3 separate regions of the Homo sapiens genome follow, and all the other regions are linked to region 1. Evidence: promoter capture Hi-C in 16 types of primary human blood cells and fetal thymus (Javierre and others, 2016). All regions are on one chromosome and are shown on one strand. The core of a region is centred on a gene start or on the middle of the fragment in contact, and the rest is flanking DNA. Distances in the headings are between cores, read along the strand shown.

Region 1 (3,555 bases), core at 782-3,281:
TAATCAACAAATAAAACATTTGTGTTTTATCATGCTAGTATTCCTATGATGCCCAGCATGCATTACAATGTAGCATAGTGAATATATAAATTCTCATCTAGAAAGAAACTATGGTTTTAAGCATCTTTGAATCTTCCTCAGTACTTAAAATACTCAATTGCCTTGATGTACAACCTTTGTTAGTGACATAATTAAGCACAATTATACTCCATTAAGATTTTGCTTAACACTAAAACTATCATTTTCTAGGTTTTTTCAAAGTGAACAGTCAGCCACCATGATTAGATCACAGGTTCTTCCATTTATTTTCAATTCCTCATCTATTTAAAGGTTAGTATAGATGTAAGAAAATTATCCAAAGGTCACCATTCAAATGACCAACCATTTGAAATACAGTAAAGAATCAGGCTTCTGAGCTAATACTTTTAGAAGAGCTAGAGTATTAAACTCTGGGCATTTTCACCCATTAATCATTGTTCAATAAATGTTTAAGTGCCTACCTACCATGTGCCAGACACCATTCAAAGTTCTGTGGATATAACAGACAAAAACCCTGCCATCATGTAGCCTGCATTCTAATGGAGGAGAAAGACAATAAACACATGAGTAAATTATAAATAAAGTGATTAGTACTATATCTTTACCTTAGAGGATACCCAACAAACAGTTACTAACTTAAAAGAAAAGAAAAACTCACCTGTAGTATCAGCAGAAATTTTATTCAAGCTTAGTTCATCAGTAAGGTCTTCATTTTTAAACTTATTTTTAATGTCTCTCACTTTGTTCATTATGGAATCAATTGTCAATTCTCTGCCACTTAAATCCTCGGATTCCATTTCTAAGAAAAAAACTGAACAGTCATAACTCCTACTTTAACTAGCATCAAAGAAAAAAATGCACTAGCTTTTTAGAACCCAGACGACTAAAGCATTCGTTTTGTGAACACATCTAAATGCAGCTATTATTAGGCTAGTATTAATGGAGGTAAGTGCACAACAACAAGGTACACATCTTTGTAATTTATTCACCAAGGTTTCATAGGCCAAGTATACTTTTTCCCCCAATATAACATCAATGACGTCACACTGTAGAAATCTGCAAATTTAGTGTCACTTAAAAAAAATATGATAGAGTGTTTGCTTGGATTTTGGTAGCGACATACACATAAAGATTGCTTGGATTCTGGTAGTGACATAGACATAAAGAATTCGTTTGGCAATGGGAATAACAATTCCTTTATTCGCCTGCTTTACTTGAGTAAATCTTCCAGTGCAAGTGCTTTCAAAGCAGAATATAAACATGATGGGGCTTTACTGATAATTAGGAAATCCGCAGATTTATTCTTGTGCATATCTAGCAGAATCACGATTTGCTACCTTAATCTAACACTAAGAAACTATTGTACTGGTACTGAGCACTTGCTTATCTGCATGGTGGTGGTGTTTGTTCAATAAAGTGTCTGCAGTCTTATTGTTAATCGTATCTTTGTGACTCTCAAACACCAACTCAGTGTCACTGATAACAATGCTGCCCCGTCTTCAGGTTTAACAATGAAAAAAAGTCATAAAGTTGCAGCAAGGTATCACTCCACCTCTTAAGTCAGGTTTGAAAGATAACTGTCAGATCACGGCCACCCGCTTCTTTCCCAGTTCTAACCCCCAAAACAAGAGAGACTGTCCTTTGGAAAACGATCTTGTGCGCAGGTACCCCACCACCCCTTCTTTCCAGCGTGGGCCACACCCACTTCTTACTTCCTCAACAAAACCTCCTGCATCACCCCACCGGCCAGACCCGCTGAGGCAGTGAGACATCCCCTCCCCCTCCAGCTCGTTTAGCCGCGTCGCATACCTGGCTCCGAGCTGCCCCCACCTCGCCCCACCCCTCACCGACCAGCGCTAACAATGAGCCCCTACACCGGCTGCGGCTGTTCCTCAGTGCGCCGGTGCACCGGTAAGACAGAACTTACCTACAGAAAGCTGCGCTGGGGAAATGAAAAGATGGAACCCAAACTCCTTTCCGCAAACACGTTTGAATTTCCCCGTCGCTATCACTACGGTCTCCTATTGGTCAATGCTAGCCACGTAGAAGCGACAGTCGTGATTGGTTCTTGTGCGACGGGGGCCGCCCCTCCTCCTGCGTCAGGCTAGGCCCGCCCCGGAAGAGCCTGCGGCCGCGACCCCACCCGTGCGGCGCCTGGGTTGGTAGGGTGCTGGCACTTTGCAGGCGTTCCCCGGACGCCCGTGGGCGGGCTTTCCTGGTCTTTCCAGTTTAACCAGGCCGAATTTTTGCCTGGGAGGTAGCCACTCCCGAGCAAACCTACCCAGTGAGAGGAATATAGGGGCAGGGACGGCTGCTCCTAGCATCAGGACCTAAAAGATGCACCTTGGGCCGGCCCTTTACTGACCCCACCGCCACCCTTCTCCTTCGTTTCCCGCGGTTCTCACAGCCTGGCTTAGAGAGGATGTGGCAAGAAAGGATCTTTCACTGAGCTACGTTCAGCCCTGCCGCCAGCTCAAGAATTTCAGTGCTTTTTATCCTTGAGCTTCTGCTTATGCCCTTCCATTATCCTTAAATGACTCCACGCTCTGTCTTCAAGCCAAGACCCTCCCCCTTGTCAAAATTCTGCGCAGAACTCAAGCGCCCATCGTGATTGCCCTGTCTGAAGTCGCCTTATCGGCCCCCCTCCCTCGAAGCCTGCCCCACTTAAGGGCTCAGGTGTCCTCAGGGGTAAAAACATCTCCCTAGTAATAATCTTCGCGGGTGCGAGGCTCTGCCGCTAAGTGGCTTTGTGGTCCAGGGCAACGGTTACTCCTCGTCTGCAAAACTAAAAGGGATGTGTCTGTTGTGCCAGCATTATGACATATATTCTGTGGTAGGACGGGTTGGTTTTGTGTATGTATAGGAAACTAACTGCAGCTGTCACTTGTTAACTCCAAAGCTATCCTTAGAACCCTCACATTCCCAGCTCTGGATAGCCACCCAGCTAGCGTGAGAGCCCTTCTCAATCACTTAATGCATCTTTCTGTGTCAGCTAGCTAGTATTTCTGCTTCAGCAGAGCAAAATGACTTGCTATACCATGGTTGGCTAATCACTTACCTTTGCACCATTGCATCTAATGCTTCTGCCTGGAAAGAGTTTATTATTCCTCCAATTCTCGTTGATCTGTTTGCGGCCTGATCACAAAGCTTGCATTTTCCTTAAAATACTGTTGCTGGATGACCTCACCCTAACACTTCTTTCTGTACTCTCGTTTGGTGGTCTCCTTCAGTCTTCTATTTTTAAATACCATCTATATGTTGATGGCTCCCAAATGTGTATCATTAGCTGAGCTCTCCTCAACTCCATACTCAGATATCCACTGCCTACTTATTAACATCTTCACTTACATGTCTCATACGCATCTTGAACTCAAAATGTCCAAAACCAAGCCCCTGATCTTCCTACCCAAACCTGTTTTTTTTACAAAATCTATAAAAGACAAATTCATTGTCTTAAATTTTTTAGCCCCAAAACCTTTGTGTCATCCCTGATCCCTTATCTAACTCATAAGCAGA
Region 2 (3,555 bases), core at 336-2,835, 5.6 Mb before region 1:
GGAAAGGGTCTTAAATCCGAGTCAAGTCCCTTCCTTGGGGTAAAAAATGTATTCTTAAAGCATTCTGATGTTAAAAAGAAAACTTAAGTTATCTAACCAAAACAGACGCAAGATTTTGTTTCTGCAGACTACTTGGCAATCAAAAGTGATCATAAATTTAGGTTATCAGTTTTCAGAAAGTTGCTTTGTGAGAAAATTTTGTTAGATATATTCTCCCAAGCATGCTTTTTGTGGAAGGTTTTCAGCCATTGCCACTGAATCAGATGTTAAAAATGAAGGGAAAATTGAGTGTGCACACACACAACTGTTGTACACTCATGATTGCAGTTTTTAGCTTAAGAAACTTTTCTACCAGTTACTGTGAATCTGACTTAAAATGTAAAGTTTCCTCATGATAAAATAGGAACAACATAGAAATGGATTGATGGGGTGATCTGAGTTATTGTATATAAAAGTTTTTAAAGAATAGAATGAACATCAAGCTAGATAGGCAAAAATTGACACATTCAGAACAGCTTTTTTGACTGCGAAGCCAAAAGTTGTCAGAAACAGCAAAAGATCCCTTATTATTACAGAGTATTTTACGTAGTCTCTATTTTAAGGAGAGAAATTAAATAGAAGGGCTTCATGCATTTAGGGGAGGGTGCTAAAACTTCTCAAGTTCGTCAAACTTACAGGAATACCCACCATGATCATTTTCTCTCTAATTATGTATACCACAAAATTTTCATCTGGCCATAGGAATTCACTGGTGGGTGTAAAATTAATGACTAAAGAAATTAAGTGACAAATACATAAAAGAAACAGACTTGTGGGGATATTGTTTTAAGGTGTATTAATTACTCAGTGATGATACCACTCAATAGGGCATGCCACTACTTTTCTTAAGATGCTAATTATGAAGCAGTGCTCACAGGCATTTTTTAACTAGCAAATTAGTAGATGGACTTTTGGGGTCTGTCACTTTTTAAAAGTATTTAAGACTTAAATTCTATTAGCACCACAGTCTGCCTTCAGTAATACACCTAAAATATTTTTCAGGACCAGAAGCATTCAGTTTGAAAATTTGCAGATGCAAACCAGTATTATTACTAACGCTCTGGGTCAAAGATTAGGTTTTTAATATTAACAGTAGTCTGGTAAATATTTAGAAGTCTGGCATTGAGAAACAAAAGCTTGTACCTGACTAGTATTTTTATTTAAAAAAATTAGTTCTGTTAGCTTATTTAAATTGTGTTTTATTTATCCGTAGAATTTATATTTATTTCATTCCTTTCATCTCACTGAAAACTGTCTGCAGGCCCTTTGATTTGGATTAGATGTGTGAAGTACTGTCTTTTGCCAAAAACCTCAAATTACCTGTTCTTTTCAACGTAGTGGGTTTGTGCTTGTTTGGAGATCAGTTCAAAAACTATCTGTACTATCTGTACTGCCTCTGATGTTAAGATTTTATGTATAGCATAAGGAAGCTAGCTCTGACTATATTTTCCTAAGAATAAAGACCTATTTTTGTAGCATGTCTTAGGATCTCCAGGAGTCCAAGAATTATTGTGGGTGTCCTCCAATTCATCACTCTTCACTTAACAGCTTTTAAGTAGACACTTGGAATCTTTAGAGGTCTGTCGCCCTTTGATTATCCATACATTCGAAGTAACTAGCCAATGGTGAAAAATTCCTCAAGATATCCTCAGTTGCAATCACATTACTGGAAGATGAATAGAATAAATGTATTAGGCTGGTCTTAATTTTTGATGGAAATATTCTGTTGTCCCGTACTTGCCATTGGATTTGATAAAGTTAGTGGTAATTTGGAAAGAATCGGGGACTTGCCAATATATTTGTGGGTTTTAGCTTATACCCCTAGGATTTCTTGGTTGCGGGACGAGCAGTTTTGGCCACTTCCATCAGGACAAGACTTTTTAGGTCACTTAGTGCAGGTTTTAGTTTCTATTTTGGATTAACAACATTTATATTGATTATCGAAAAGAAGCTTTCATCATTTCAGAACAGTCCTGGAAGTTTGACTTTGAGTGTGGGAGAAGTCCTAATAAACCATTTTGGAAATTAGTGTCTCCAAGTGTTACAGCTTCCTAAAATGGGTTTCTAACACAGTGGGATCAAAATAAGGTTATTTTAGGATAATATACTGTAAACTTAATTGACTGTCTGATTTTCTACTTTGTCTATAAAGTGGCTTACAACAGGTTCTAATCTAGAAAGGAGTTATAAAGGTTATCTGTAATGTTTATGAATTGTCATTTCTTGCCTTCTTTTAGGCTTTCAGCTGTATTCTGAAAAGGAGATTGTTGTGACAAACTCAACTTGTTTTGGAGAGAATTTTAGGAAACCTAAGGGATTTGGCGTTTTATATCATTTTTGATGTGCAGTTTTTGAGTTTTCAGGGCAGAAGGGCAAAGTATTTGGTGTGGACAAGTTGTTACCACAGATTAAAGAATAAGACCAGGGCTTGCTGACAATAAGAAATTTGTTAAAGAGTTTTGTAGGTTCCATATGGTAAAATTAGGTCTTGTAATTATAGAAACACCATGATATACAAGAAGAGTTCCAGCATACCTGTTATGGCTCGTTAATAGTGTTAACTTTAAGTTGAAATGTGAATAACATGGCATTTGTGTTACATGAGTACTGCATCATTTAAACACAAATTTGCTAAAGCTAGGTGCATCTGTATACTAAAACCCTTATGACATCATTTTTAAGAGAATATCTTTAATATGTCAGTATTTATGTTAATTGGTTGCTTTAATTGGAAGACTCAGGAATTAGGCCTCCAGTTGCTTTTAGTTTAACACGTCATGAAAAATTAGAAAAGCATATGTACAAATTGTATTTCTCAGTTTTATTTAATATTTGGAATATACTTAGAGGAAAACCAGAAATAAACAATGTTAAAGGTCATCTATAAAAATGGCAGAATACACTTTTCATTTCCACTCTAGAGCCACATGTATACAGTGTAGTTTTGGCAAATTTCATTCATACCTCTACCTCCTTTGCTGTTTTCCTTGAAATAGTAAAAATTCACATGAATTTGCAGAAATTAAGTTCTTAGGAGTTCTTCAACAGTATTAAAGACAGGTTCTGTTCCCTTTTGGTTTCCTGCCTAACTACAGGTACAGTTAAACATGGAATTAAAAGACAGCCTTTATTGTAAAATTGTCATGTAACAGATCCTAGTTGATCTCTGGTTTCCTGGAGATTTATTTAGCATTTGGGAGAGGATCAACAAAGGGGCACAGCAAGCAGATACTGTAGTTAGTATTATTTTTCCCTTTTTTGCTTACTGTCTATCGATTAGTCTTTAAATTACTAGTACATTTTATGATAAATTTCTTTGATTTATTTTACCTCCTTTTAGAATGGAAGCTCCTCGAAGGGCAGGGAAATCTGAGTAGGCAGGCATTTAAAAATATTTAAAATGTTCAGTTGGGTGGAAGTTTAGTTTTATTTGCCAAATTAGGCTTGTGACATGAGAATTTGACAAAGGGGATCAAATATTTCGAACCATTTAATTTATGGCATGGAAAGCTTTTA
Region 3 (3,555 bases), core at 365-2,864, 5.4 Mb before region 1:
ACACTTCCCTTTCCCTTCCACACTTGTGGACTTCACAGATTTCTCTGGACGTTTCTCTGGAGATTTCTCAGTTCTTCCTCTTCCAAAGCTCTTTTTTCTTCTCCCAAGTTTCTCCACAGTCTTGCTGAATCCCTTTACTCAAGGCTTTTACACAGGGTTAAATTTGGGTGGTGGTTTTATTTTTTTTTTAACCACCATATATACATCTTGGTTGTACTTATTTATTACTGTGCAACCACCTCTGCTCCCTTTCTAGAATTTAGTGCAATAGAAAAGGCATTACCTTTAACCTAACATTTGGGACTTTGAACTAAACTTTTGCACATGTTTTAAGAGCCCATTATCTCTTAAGTTGGACTCTTCCTAAATCTCTGCCGCCAAACCTACTTTATTGAAATCCTTTGAAACCCAAGTCTTTCCACATTTTGGCTCTCTCTGAAGTTTCTTTCTTTCTTTCTCTTTCTTTCTTTCTTTCCTTTTCTTAACCCTATATTATAGTGTCTGGTAATAACAACATATATAGACACCACACTATGTGTCTGGTAATAATATAGAGACCACACTATGTGCACTATGTACAATTATAATCCTTATTTTTATACAGGATAGAACTGAGGCAAGAAAGAGTAAATAACTTGCTCAAGGTCACATAGAAGGTAATTGAACAGAGAATCTACCCCAAAGCTGTGAGCTTAATTACTCTCAAGCTCCGGGGTCAAAGAGATCTGGTGTCCATTCTTATCACGTCTCCCTTTTTGCGGGGATGGTGCCTGTTAATTTATTCAGCTTCTTCGACGCGGTTTCCCTTTCAATAAGATTGAGATAAAGCATTTTTCGAAAGATCTAGATTGAGATAAAGCATTCTTTGAAAGATCTAGCAGTAAATGAGAGCTGCGTGAGGGATCCGATTCAGTCCCTAGCTCTGGATAACTGTCAGTGCTTCTACGCACCCCACCTTAAGCCCCTCGCAGGCAGGACTGGGTCCTGCTCCTCTAAATACTCCCATCTCATAGTGGGGGCGCAATAACGTCCGTTTAAGACGAATCGTCCAAGGGACTTCTATGCATCCAGCTGGCACACTGGCCGGAGTCTCACTTTATCCCCACATCTCTCCGCGCCCTGGACCTAGGCTTGCCACACTCTGCCATCCGCTGCTTTTCCAGCCCGGCTCCTCTCTCAGTCCGGGACTACTATCCCGGGCGCGGGCTCGGGTCTTACCATGGCATCGTAGCGCAGGGCGTTCATGAAGTGCGCCACCTCGGCGCCCTTGTACACGGTGAACCAGATAGTGCCCTGGTACTGGTCGCCGGCGTCCAGCAGCAGCACGTTGGGTTCGGCGCGGCGGATCTGCTGAACCTTGGTGAAGAGCCGAGCCACGCCACCCATGCAGCGGCTGGCGTTGACGCACTTGCTGGAGTCCTCGCTGGTCTGCTCCAGCCGGCTGTGCACGTCGTTGGTGTGCAAAATCGTAAGCTCCCAGGCGCCAGCCGCAGGCCACAGCACCGCGCCCAGGGCGAGGAGTAGCGTCGCGGGCGCCCGCGCGGCTCGGGGACACATAGCTGTGGCGCGTGAACTGGGTGCGAAAGCGGGCGAGCCGGGCGAGTGCCGGCGAGTAGGGGCGAGCAGCTAGGGCCGGGGCTCGGTGCCCCGGCTGGAGGGGCGGGGCCCGGGTCAAGGCCGGGGCGGGTCCTTCTTCAGCCTGGAGGCCGGCTTGGCGGCCAGGCGCAAGTTCGCGACGTCACCCGATCCGACCCTGGTACCCGGAGCGGCCCTGGCGCGGCTGTCGGCTGGCACCAGCTCCCTGCAGGAAGAGTGGAGAGGTTGTTCCCGGCGGGGAGCGGGTACCGGCCGCATCCCGGCCGGACCAGGGAGCCTGGGCGCCGGCAGTTCGGCTGCTGGTGCGCCGCTCTTTCGGGGGCGCGAGGAAGGAATTGGAGGGGTCCGCCCCGCGCCTGGGTCCTCTCTGAGTCTCGCCTCATTCGAGGCACGGGTTTTTCTACAAAAGGAATGTATGGTTTGTGGTTGCGCTAGCTCATCACTTCAAAGAACCAAAGAAGGAAAAGAGAGGGGGCGGGAAGAAAGATGAGCGAGCTGAGGGGCAGAGAGGAGGAGTAAAGAGAGGCCGGGCAGAGGAGCTCCTTGCAGTTTCGGGCTGTGAGAGCCGAAGCTCACTGAGATGTGACGCTTCCTGTTGGGTTGAGAACGCACGAAGTCTACGATGCTTAGACAAAAAAATCTCAGAAACTAAGAAATCATTCGAATCCAGTTCCTTGTTTATTCACAATTAAAACCTTAGTGATAAAACAGAGGCGACGCGCGGACAGCTCCTGGAAGCAGAAACACGATTGGGGTAAAATCCGGCAGCTATCAGGACGGGAAGGGATGCTGCCCTTCTTTGCTTTTCTGGTCTTATTTTATTTTATTTTATTTTTATTTTGTCGCGTGTGCTTTCGGTGTCGCAGTGAAGTCATAGCCAAATACAATGTTAGGAAGATTTTCCTCTATGTTTTCTCCTAAGAGTTTTATAATTTAAACTCTTAGACCTTTAATCCATTTTGAGTTAATTTTCATATGTGGTATGAGTCCACATTTACTCTTTTTCATGTGGATATCCAGTTTTCTTAGTACCATTTGTTGAAAAGACATTCTGTGCCCGTTTTTAAGACATTGACCTGAGGTTCGGAGATTGTAAATCATTTGCCAAGAAAGGCCATGCAGTTTGGGAGCAGCAGTGCCTGGGGCTACAGAAGACCCTTGCTTCTGGGACACCCTCTAATGTCATGCTTTGCAAGGTTTTGCTCTGTCCCTCTTTGAGCACCTGCTAGAAGCAGGTAAAAGAACTGGTAGTTTTGCTGTTTTAACTTAAAAAAAGAATGATTTTAGACTTACAGAAAAGTTGCAAAGGTAATAAAGGGAGTTCCCACATACCCATCACCCATATTGCCTTATGTTAACAGCTTATATAACCAATGAAACTAAAAACTTAACAGTGATACGAAACTATTAACTGTGTTACTGATTTTATTTTAATTTCACCAACTGTTCCACTAATGTCCGTTTTCTATTCCAGGACCCAATTCAGGATACCATATTGCAGTTAGTTTTCCTGTGTTCTTAGCCTCCTCTAATCTGTGACAGTTTCTCAGTCAGTTGTCTTCAAAAACCTTGACACTTTTGAACAGTACTGGTTTCTGTATACTATCCCTCAGTTTGGGTTTGTCTGATGTTTTCTCATGATTGGACTGAAGCTGTGGATGTTTAGGAAGAATGCTACAGAGATTATGTGCCTTTCTCATTGCCTGGTATCTGTGGGTACACGGTATCAACATGACCTATCACTGATCACTGGGGAACTGATCATTTGTTGTTTCTTGTCTTTTAAACCTAAGCCACTGCAATAGTTTCTGAAATTCCTGTTCTGGGGATGCTACCAGATTTCTGCTTCAATATCATTTCCATGCCATTTGTTTTCATATACATCTAAAATGGCCTTTGATTGTTTATTGCACCAAGTTCAAGCTTCGCAAACTGGCATTTTGAAGTCTCATTTTATCC

What was found. The method cuts DNA at HindIII sites, captures the fragments that hold promoters and counts their contacts. A CHiCAGO score of 5 or more calls a contact.
Region 2: a fragment that was not itself captured here is called in contact with the fragment with the promoter of TTK in region 1 in 1 of 17 cell types (total B cells); the score reaches 6.4 in total B cells.
Region 3: a contact is called between the fragment with the promoter of NT5E here and the fragment with the promoter of TTK in region 1, in 1 of 17 cell types (total B cells). The highest score is 6.2, in total B cells.

Annotation. Positions count from the first base shown.
Region 1 is chr6:80,003,125-80,006,679 of GRCh38, reverse strand. It overlaps TTK (TTK protein kinase), which reads right to left and starts at 2,031. Exons shown (of 22, transcript NM_003318.5): 1 at 1,967-2,031; 2 at 698-838. The coding sequence starts at 836. RefSeq lists enhancers at 2,430-2,549, 2,120-2,994. The HindIII fragment of the contact is 2,460 bases long and covers 729-3,188 here.
Region 2 is chr6:85,606,296-85,609,850 of GRCh38, reverse strand. It overlaps a transcript of SYNCRIP not described here. Among named protein-coding and RNA genes, the nearest start is that of SNX14, 14 kb to the right of the region's middle. The HindIII fragment of the contact is 815 bases long and covers 1,178-1,992 here.
Region 3 is chr6:85,448,142-85,451,696 of GRCh38, reverse strand. It overlaps NT5E (5'-nucleotidase ecto), which reads right to left and starts at 1,614. Exons shown (of 9, transcript NM_002526.4): 1 at 1,219-1,614. The coding sequence starts at 1,557. RefSeq lists a silencer at 1,552-1,821. The HindIII fragment of the contact is 6,289 bases long and covers 1-3,521 here.